Regions from separate parts of the Homo sapiens genome. Here region 2 is linked to region 1. Evidence: promoter capture Hi-C in 16 types of primary human blood cells and fetal thymus (Javierre and others, 2016). All regions are on one chromosome and are shown on one strand. Each heading gives the region's core, a stretch centred on a gene start or on the middle of the fragment in contact. The rest is flanking DNA. Distances are from core to core; before and after follow the strand shown.

The links. The method cuts DNA at HindIII sites, captures the fragments that hold promoters and counts their contacts. A CHiCAGO score of 5 or more calls a contact.
Region 2: a fragment that was not itself captured here is called in contact with the fragment with the promoter of AWAT2 in region 1 in 1 of 17 cell types (naive B cells); the score reaches 5.8 in naive B cells.

What each region holds. Positions count from the first base shown.
Region 1 is chrX:70,046,959-70,052,247 of GRCh38, reverse strand. AWAT2 (acyl-CoA wax alcohol acyltransferase 2) reads left to right here and starts at 2,310. Exons shown (of 8, transcript NM_001002254.1): 1 at 2,310-2,400. The coding sequence starts at 2,316. The HindIII fragment of the contact is 8,371 bases long and covers 1-5,289 here.
Region 2 is chrX:69,555,770-69,561,058 of GRCh38, reverse strand. No RefSeq gene overlaps it. Among named protein-coding and RNA genes, the nearest start is that of NALF2, 54 kb to the right of the region's middle. The HindIII fragment of the contact is 389 bases long and covers 2,049-2,437 here.

The sequences.
Region 1 (5,289 bases), core at 1,061-3,560:
TGTCCTCATAATAATTAGATGTTGTGTTAAGACACCCTTCCAGTCTTCCACCCTTCCAGTCTTCCACCCTTCCATGTATTTGGCCCATAGGACACACCTGGCTGGACTTGGTATCTTTCACACTCGCATATCTCCCATCACACACAGACTTGGAGGTGCCACCTACTAATGTGCATATATAAATATGTGTTGACAACTAGATACGTATTTCCCTTTGTACATATATACTCACAGGCAAAGACCACATGTGCACATGTATGTGCATGAAAAAAATCATATTTGTAAAATTTCTTCTTTTTTTGTTTGTTTGAGACAGAGTCTTGCTCTGTTGCCCAGGCTGGAGTGCAGTGGCATGATCTCAGCTTACTGCAACCTCTGCCTCCCGGGTTCAAGTGATTCTCATGCCTCATCCTCCAGAGTAGTTGGGATTATAGGCACACGCCACCATGTCCGGCTAATTTTTTGTATTTTTAGTAGAGATGGGGTGTCGCCATATTGGCCAGGCTGGTCTCGAATTCCTGGCCTCATGTGATCCACCCACCTTGGCCTCCCAAAATGCTGGGATTACAGGAGCGAGCCACTACTTTTTTTTTTTGAGACAGAGTTTTGCTCCCGTTGCCTAGGCTGGAGTGCAATGGTGCGATCTCAGCTCACCACAGCTTCCATCTCCTGGGTTCAAGCGATTCTCCTGCCTCAGCCTCCTGAGTAGCTGGGATTACAGGCATGTGCCACCACGCCCGGCTAATTGTGTATTTTTCAGTAGAGATGGGGTTTCTCCATGTTGGTCAGGCTGGTTTCGAACTCCCGACCTCAGGTGATCTGCCTGCCTCGGCCTCCCAAAGTATGACCTTGAGGGAACTCTTTTTTCAAAATTCTATTATAAAAAAATTCAAACCTACCGAGTAGTTGAAAGAATTGTACAGTGAATACCCACCACCTAGATTGTACAGATAATATTTTATGTTATCTGTACAGAAATATAAAATATAAAATATTAAAATATAAAAATATATTTAATATATTATATATAAATATTAATATATAAAAATATATTAAAATATAAAAAATATTAAAATATTAAAAATATAAAATATTTATATATTTTACTAGATTTAATAAATCAATCTTTGTTTGATTTATTACATATTTATCCATCAGTACATCCCTGTATCCATCCATCAATATATTTTACATGCATTTCAAAGTAAATTGCAGACATCAGCACTCTTTTTTGTTTTGTTTTTTTAGAGACAGTGTCTCACTCTGTCATCCAGGCTGGAGTGCAGTGGCACGGTCATAGCTCACTGTAATCTCTAATTCCTGGCCTCAAGTGATCCTCCTGCCTTGGCCTCCCAAAGTGCTGGGATTACAGGTGTGAGCTACCATGCCCAGCCTAGTATTCTTCACCCCTAAACACTTCAGAATTAATGAGAGTTCAACTTTTTTTTTTTACTTTCGAGGTAAAATCCACAGGCAGTGAAACGTACACATTTTAAGTGTATACTCACTGAGTAATGAGGTTTTGATCTGTGTAACTCACAGTCCTATCAAGACAGAGAACGTCACTGTTACCCCTAAAGGTTTCCATCATGCCCCTTCCTAGTCAATCCCCAAGCACAGGTAACCACTGCTGTGATTTGTTTCACTATAGATTGGTTTTGCCTATTCTAAAATTTCATGTACACAGAATAATATACACCAATATTTGTTTCTTCATTCAATAATAGGTTTATTCAGTACCTATGATAGCTCACAGACATACATGTGATGTCTCTTCAATGTGAGTAATGAGTTCTCCCAGACTGACTAAAAGGCTGAAGGTATTTCTAAGGCCTTGCCTGTGACCTCCTTCCCTCTGCCCTCCAATCCCATTGTCACTGAGAGACCATAGACAGTTGGGCCTCAGAAACAGAAATGCAAGCCCTGTGTCCCATTTGAGCCCTGGGCTCCTTCCTGCCCATCACTCTCCACCATCCAGACTGGCCCTGGAGGCCTCTTGTCAGCTGCACGCCCACACTAACTTTCACACCAGGGTTTCATCACATTTCTCTAGCCAAGTGCGCAAAGGAGTGTCACAATCTCAGTCCAGGCAATACCCAAGTGGGTAAAAGTACAGGTGAGTGGGCAGCTGGAAGGAACTGGATAAGCAGAGGCATTATATGGTCCTGTAATTCTGTGGAGGGGTGGTACAGGGGCGGAGGCTAGCCAGAGGCTGGGGAAGAAAACATTAAGAGAGGAAACATCACAGACTCCTGAGCAATCAGGGCTGGGCAGCTGAACAGTGCTTACCTGGAGCCACTGGGACGCTGGGCACAATGCTCTTGCCCTCTAAGAAGGACCTCAAGACTGCCCTGGATGTCTTTGCTGTTTTCCAGTGGTCCTTCAGTGCCTTGCTTATCAGTGAGTCTTCAGCCTTTGGTAGGGTGACCAACCATCCTGGCTTGCCTGAGACTGAAGGATTTTAGGGTTGCAGGATGTTCAATGGTCAAACTAGGGTTGTTCCAGTAAAACCAGGAAGGTTGGTAACACCAGCCTCTGGCCTGACCCACCTGGCCATGGTATTTGTGGGATCTGTGAGTGTCCCTGTGGGCATGTGTGTGTGCATATGGGTGTGTGCCTATGCAGGGGTGTGTATATGCACGTCTATGCACATGGACTTTGCTGCAGGTGTGAGCCCTTCTCGGTCTACATTGGGGTGTAGAGGGCATTCTTTGGGAAGATGAGGAGCAGTTCCACTGAGGCTAGCCAAGGAAAAGGGCTTGGCTGCAATCACAGGGACTCAAGCAAACCACCAATTAGAGATAGTTGGGTCAGGTGGCAGACCGAGGCTCTGGAAACCTCATCCTGAGGAATTCGACAATTTATCCATCCATGTCTTCCAACGCTTACACTACAAACACTTTGTGAAAGTTATTTCTATGCTGGCCACTGTGTTCTAAATGCTGAAACAAATCATCACTGTGGGAAGGGGTCCTGGAAAACATTCTTGCCTTTCCAGTGGTTCAGGTGAGTACTGGCTGGAGTCAGGGAAATGAATTAAGTGACCTTGCAAGCTATCTAGGAATAAAGAATGCAGATAGGCCTTGGTGCACAGAGCTGGCACAGAGGCACGCCAGTGAATAGGAAGGGTGGGCATTCCTTACCTCACCTCACCTGTTTTCAAATTCCAGTTCTACTACTTACTATCTGTGTAATTCTTAGCAAGGTATTTATCCTTTCTGAGTCTTGTTTTCCTCATTTGCAAAGTGGGAGCATTCAGGGTGTATTAATCAGGATGGTCTAGGTATGCCGTGCTGATAAATTCACCCTGAAATCTCAGTGGCTTAACCCAGCAAATGTTTATTTCTTGTTCATGCTGAATGTCCAACATAGGTTGGTGGGAGTCACCGCTCACTGTGGACATTGATATTCAGGCTGACGGAGGCACCACCAAATTGTGTCGCTGCAAAATGGGGCTTGAGGGATTACCACAGCATGGGAGGGAAAGTGAATGGAGAACTCATTCACAGTCCTTACTACCTCCACCCAGAAGTGATAGGCAAGAAACCATGAGCTGTCGCCTCATTTTGAACGTCCTTAATTACTGATGAGTTTGAGCATCTTTTCATGTTTATCAGCAATTAGTATTTCTTTTTCTGTTAACTGCCCATTTATGACCTCTGCCCATTTTTCTCTTGAATTTGAGTTGACTCTTGAAGGACAAATAGGAAATAGGTGAAGAAAGGAAGAGCATTTGGGGCAGAGAGTGGGCAACACATGGAAAAGCTAGGATGGCAAAGGGCACATAATGCATTCAAGGAGCTGCCAGTGGTTAAGTGAGGTGGAGGGTGAGAAGCACAGAATTGGTGCTCGATATATATTTATTGAATGAATGAATGAACAAACAAGAGAGGGAAGAAGGAAGAGACTGGAGAAACAGGCAGGGGACAGATTGTGTAGGGCTTTGTAAACCATGGGAAGGAGTTTGGACTTTTTTTGAGAGCCATGTGGAGCCATGAGGGAGACTGACACAGGGTGATGGCATCAGAGATTACTCTAGCTCTGTGAAGTCAACTGATTATAGGAAGATAGAAGTGGAAGGGGCAATGCCAGGTAGGAGGCTGTTGCAATAATCCAGATGGCGGTAATTTGGACCAGGCCGGTAGTGATGGTGATGCAGAGAAGAGGAAAGAAGAGGGGAGATTCAAGAAATTGGAGTAGAATGAATAGGACTTGAAGATGGGGGGTGGGGGCACGGGAGAAATGGAGGAAGCAAGACTGAGGGATCAGGTCCCAGTGTGAGCTGGCAGGGGGGCAGGTGGGGCAGAGAAGGGTTAAGGAGGAGAGTGGCTGAAAGGGGATGAGTCCAGGGACAAAATGGACTCAGAGGACTCTTAACTGGAGTTTGACTTCGGGGTATACTAAGAGGTACAGAGAGGGCAGGCAGAAGAGCTCTCGGTCCTGGCAGCAGATATGGGCTGCAGGCGTTTGCCCCTTCCTCACTAGTTCACATAGGGCAAGTGGGGCAATGGCCCTTCGGAGGCCTCTCAGCTCTTCACTCTAGGAGTGCAATTGAATCCATCCGGACCCTAAAGGCCTTGAGAGAAGGCCCTCCCAATAAGTGAGGGAAATAGTGCAGATATTGGTATTTTAGTTCCCATCTTGCAGATGAGGAACTGAGGTTCAGCAACGTCTTTGGTCACACACAGTAAGTGGCAGATCCAAGATTCATCACATCACAGGGCACCCCACCTGAGGCCACGCTTACAAGATGTCCCCAGCACTGCCTAGGTTTGAGCAGAGCCTAAAGGAAACTGGGAGGTGTCCTCTGGATCAGACCCAATGCCTCTCTTTACTTCTCAAAGAAGTCAGTAGTGTCATATGGCACTTATCAAAACCCTAGAACTGCTGGCCTTTGCTCTACCCTTAATTCTCTTTCCCAAGGCAGTGCTTTTCAACTTTGTTGGTTCTTTCTTCTGGAATTTACTTCCATATTTCTAAATCTTATTATTTGCTGATGTAACAATTTTAGACATTGTCTATTGACTTCCTAATATGGAAGATGAGAATTTGGCTGTGCACACTATCACTAGAACTTCCTCTTCCCCCATCCTCCCAAAATTGTTATAGCACAGGTTTTGGTTAAATGCCTATGACTAGAAAATATGATTCATAATTGAGCTATTTAGTCACCAAGATTATATTTCCTTTCCCATGGAATTTCCTGTTTTCCCTGAAGTTAATAATTGCCTCATTTTATTTTATTATTTTATTTTTTAGTGTAATATTTTAAAATCAATTTTTGAATCT
Region 2 (5,289 bases), core at 994-3,493, 490 kb after region 1:
CTTTGCCAAAATAATGGGTATTTATTCAAGGGCCATTCTACTTCATCATGTGATGCCCCACTGGTGTCTAGTTTTGTGGGACCAGCAGTTGACAAAATTTATTTCTTCCAGGATAAAACTGGTCACTTGGAAAAGACTAGATGATTATCCTAAGATTTCTCAGTAGGAAGGATCTTGTCCTTTCCTCTCATTTGGTCTCTGCCTCTATCTTCTGCCTCTAGCTTCTGTTTTGTTCATCTATTCTGAAGCTTTTGCATAAGTACAGGTCCTCGGGCCTCAGTATGAGAGGTTCTAGCCTCTCCTGTCTTCTCAGGACCACAGCTGAGATGTCTTTTTATCCAGGCAGGAGAAAAAAGAGGTGGAAAGAAGAAATGAAGTCCCGATCTTACATGGCTTGTCCCTGGCATGTGACCCTTGTTTTGGAACACTCTCTTGACCTGCTCTTATTCCTGTGTATCTGCCCCAGTACTTGCTGTTGACTATCCTATCTTTAGGACATTTCCCCCAAAGGCCTTTCTTTTTCTGCCCATCTTTTTTTCCTGAATTTTAGTAACAGCTTTATTGAGATGCAATTCACATACCACGCAACTCACATCTGTGAAGTGCACAATTAGGTTGTTTTTAGTATATATTCAGAGTTATGCAACCTTTACCACTCATTCCAGAACATTTTCATTACCCTTAAAAGAAGCCCCATACTCCTTAGCCATCACCCCCGAAACTAGTCCTAAACAACACACTAATCTACTTTCTGTCCTCCGAATTTGCCTATTCTGAACATTTCATAAAAATAAGGTTACACAGTATATGTCTTTTGCATCTGGCTTCTTTTGCTTAGCATAATGTTTCAAAGTTTATCCATACTGTAGCATGTGCCAGTACTTCATTTCTTTTTAAGGTTCAATGATATTCCATTGTATGGATATGCCAGCATTTGTTTGTCCATTCATCCATTGATGGACATGTGAGTTGTTTCCACCTTTTGGCAATTGTAAATAGTGCTGCTAGGAGCACTTTGGTACAAATTTTTGTGTGCATGTGTGTTTTCATTTCTCTTGAGTATATATATATATATATTAGGGAGCAGAATTGCTGGGTCAAATGGTAACTCTATGTTTAACCTTCAGAAGAACTGCCAGGCTGTCTTTCAAAGTGCCTCTGCCCAGCTTTTTAAATGTTGCTATTTCTTTTTTCTTTTTAACTACCATTGATATTTTCCAAATTTCCACTTCTAGCTCAGATTCCCCTCTGAGCTGCCTATGAACATCTCCACCTGGGCGTCCCACAGACTCTTCAACCTAACATTGCAAAATGGAAAGTATCATCTCCTCCCTGCCCCATACTCTGTTCCCTCCTCCTCCCATGTTGTCTATCCCAGCATATGTTACAGTAGTGTAGCCAGTTGCCCAAAGGCCAGACAGATACTAGATTCTTGCCCCTTCCTCATTCTCCACATCCAATTCATTACTAAAAACTCTAAAGGTTCTGTCTTCCTAATAATTCTCCAGGGCCGGGGGCGGTGGCTCACGCCTGTAATCCCAGCATTTTGGGAGACCGAGGAGGGCAGATCACCTGAGGTTGGAAGTTCGAGACCAGCCTGACCAACACAGAGAAACCCCGTCTCTACTAAAAATACAAATTTAGCCGAACGTGGTGGCACGTGCCTGTAATCTTAGCTACTTGGGAGGCTGAGGCAGGAGAATCACTTGAACCCAGGAGGCAGAGGTTGTGGTGAGCTGAAATCGCGCCATTGCACTCCAGCCTGGGCAACAAGAGCGAAACTCCATTTCAAAAAAATAAAAATAAAAAATAATTCTCCAATCCACCTACTCCTCTTCATGCCCATTTGCCACTGCTCCAATTAAGGTCCCGTTTTGCCCGAAATAATAGTGTTCCATCTAACCTCTAATCTTACTATCCCTCCAAACCTTTCTAAATGTTATTGCTATTGTGATAAGTCACTTTCCTGCTCAAAATTCTTCAGTAACATGCACCAGACGATGGGATGAAATTTACCTTCTTTGCCTGATACGGTAACACATAAAGCTTCAGCAATATCGAATTTGGTATGCTTTCTTATACTTCTGTGCCTTGCACATGCTGTTTCCTCGGCCTCAAGGACTCTCCCCATGCTTGTTCACTGAGAAAGTTTCTATTCATCCTGTAAAGTCCAGATCAAATGCTACCTCCTCTGTGCGGCCTTCTCTGACTTCCTCGGGTAGACTTGTCTTACTTCCTCCACATTTCCACTAAGTTTATACATACACTTCACTAGAGACATTATTATAATTGATGTTTATTTAACTATCTTCTTTTCCAGCTTGCAAGACACTTGAGGGCAGAGATTTTATCATTTCATCTCTGAATATCCAGCCTCTACTGCAGTATGTGGTATAAAGATACACACACACACAGAAGCAAGGAAAAAAAGTAAGCTTTATAGACTCTTTGATCATCTGCTGCTCTGGGCCAAGAATGTTAAACAGTTTGCATATTATCTCATTTAATCCTTATTTAACCCTCTACTTGGTATTTCTACCTTAAAAATGAGAAAACTCGGGCTCTATGAGGTTAGGTAACTTGCACAGTGTCACATATACAGTCAAAGACAGAGGCAAAGGTGAGAGAGAGAAAAAGAATTGAACTCCTCTAGGAGTAGTCTTTCCTTAAAAAGGCCCCAACCTGAATTTTCATCAACTCCATCTTGCCTTCAGACCCAAAGCCTCCAAATAGTGTCTTATGTACAGACCATAGTCATCTACATCCACCCTCTAAGAAAGAAAAGAAAAGTTTCTAAGGAAGAAACTTTATGTCTCAGAAATGCCACCTTTCTATGTAACTTGCCTCCATCTTCTCTACCTAAGACTTCAACTGGGCCCATCGCAGCCATCTCCATTCCTCCCTGTTGGGAGCTTGAAACCTTCCCAGCTGTCTTGACCCTTCTATGGCCCAAGCCTTTCACTTGAATTGATCTACGACAAGCTGGGAGTTTTTGAAAAGAACTTTTCTCAGAAGTTGAGGGGAACACAACAATTTTTTAAGAATTACAAAACCCTAGAAATAAATGAGTTTACAGAAGACATTTATTTTCCTAATGGATCTCAGATCTTTCCACTGATGGATTTGGCCGGCAGATTATAGGGCATTCAATCCCCATTCCTATTCTTGGCCTCAGCCCTGTCTGAATTGGATGCTTGACCATGCTATTCAGACTCATTGCCTGGAAAGTTTGGGTTTGTGCCACCATTAGGGCTGGTGGGATTCTCTGTCCTTTCCAGAATCCGCTTTATTAATTTGGCTTTGCAGTGGGGAGGGGTGAAGGGAGATGGGGGACATTGCCAGATTACCTCCTTGCCCTGGGAAACTCTATACTTGTCCTGAGTATCTTTTCTGTCCCCTGAGAGAACTACCCTGGTTCCTGGTCCCAGAGTAAGGAATATACTCCTTTATCTACCCCAAAAGTGGCCTTTCTTGCACTTCAAGTAGCCTAGCAGATGTTTCCGTAACTCCTCTTAGATGCCTCTAGGCTCTGGTCTCTGAAAAGCCCACCTTCACTCCAGCCTGTTTCTCTTGGTCCCCTTAGGTTTTCCTGAAGCGTATCTGGTAGACACCTCCTGCGGAGGTGCCACCCCTATGGCAGTCACTGCTGATTTTCTATCCAGTAGACCTGTCCCTGCTCCATCACTTATTGTTCCAGGGTTTAAAAATCTCTTACAACTCGGTCCAAACAACTTCACTCTCCAAGGAATTTTAAACCGGCAGCGGGAGACACAAAGTGTGGCAGCCAGTCATTGAAGCTGGGTCTCATGAGTAGCAGTGCTTTAATGAGGAGGGGCCACCAACTGCCACTGTTTAGATCTACAAAGCAGTCCTGGTTCCTGTCTTTCCTGAGGGTAACTCTTCCTTCAGTTGCTTGCAACCCAAAGAGCCTTCGATAATGGTATCTAACGAATTAGACATTAGGACTAGTTCTACCCTTCTGTGACACACACAGCTGTTATTGTAGGCCTGAAATTACAAATTGCTTTCATTTTCCATGTCAATGCCTAGTGTACTCAGTTAAGAAGGACTTCAAAGTAGCGTCAGCACTGAAATTGGGGTGCAATGTCCACCAGGGACAGAGGAGTGAGAAGCGGCATTATGTTTGCCAAGTATTTGCAGACCCTATCTGGGCTAACACCTGAGACTATTCTCTCTAGTAACCTATGTGGCCTCTTTCTGAAGCCTGTTTGTCTACGTAGTTCACTAACTCTGTGACCTTGGACAAATTTCTTCCCTTCTCTGAATGCCGGTTCCTTGAGTATAAAACAAAGAGGTTGGGTCAGATGATCTCGAGGTCCTTTCTAGCTCTATGACTCAGGTCAGCCCCCTTCAAAGGGCAGTAGCAGACTCCCTGTCGCTTCCTGTTTCAAAACTCCCTCCCCTCCCCCTTTACAGCACTCACTGAATTCCAGTGTCATGTTTGAGGGACACCTTCAGTTCTCAGACCATTGGCAGAGTACAGTGGATTGACAGGCCTGGAGCCCAGTGAATCATCAGGCCTTTCCTAGTTCAGGTTACGAACTCCACCCACTTCCCCTGGGTTTCTCTGATGATTCATTCAGGTGCCCCTCTCCTATCCTTGGGAATGACCTTCCAGAATTTTATCTCTCCAGTTTTGCAATAGACAAATACTTCACATGCTGACTTATGGTAAGAGACAATATCCATCAGCAGTAAAAGGGTTGCTTTCTCACGCCCTCCCTCCTCGGCCCCCACCACCATCATCCAAACCATGCGCCTCCCCAGTCAGGCTCTCACTGGCCCTCTCTTTGCTGTCTGTCTTCAGACTCAGTCCTGCATTCCCCGGGATTTCCTCTCCCAAGGCCCAAGTGCCTGCACCTCACCGCTTTCCCCTCATTAGGCTCTGGTCTTCCGTGGCAACGCGGCCTTTACCTTTTCCCCACCCTGCCACCCCACTCCAGTCTCATTGCCCCCTTCACGGGCCTCTCCCTCTGCAGCTGCTGCAGTCTGAATAAGCACAACAAAAAAATTACCACATGTATTAAAGCGAAGCTCTTGTTGGACAACTGCAGATTTCCCTGGGCAGGATTTCAGTTTGATTTTCTCAGGGTTCCTATGAAGCCGGAGTTCCTGCCCAGACCCACCCCACCCCCGCCCCAGATGTCTGGGCCTGTAGGGAACCAGAGCCCTTCGCTTCTCTGGCCAGTCCTGGAAGACCAGACCCCCTTCCCACCCGGAACTTCCTTGTCCACCAGTCAGGGTCCCAAGGAACAGAGAGGGCAGAGG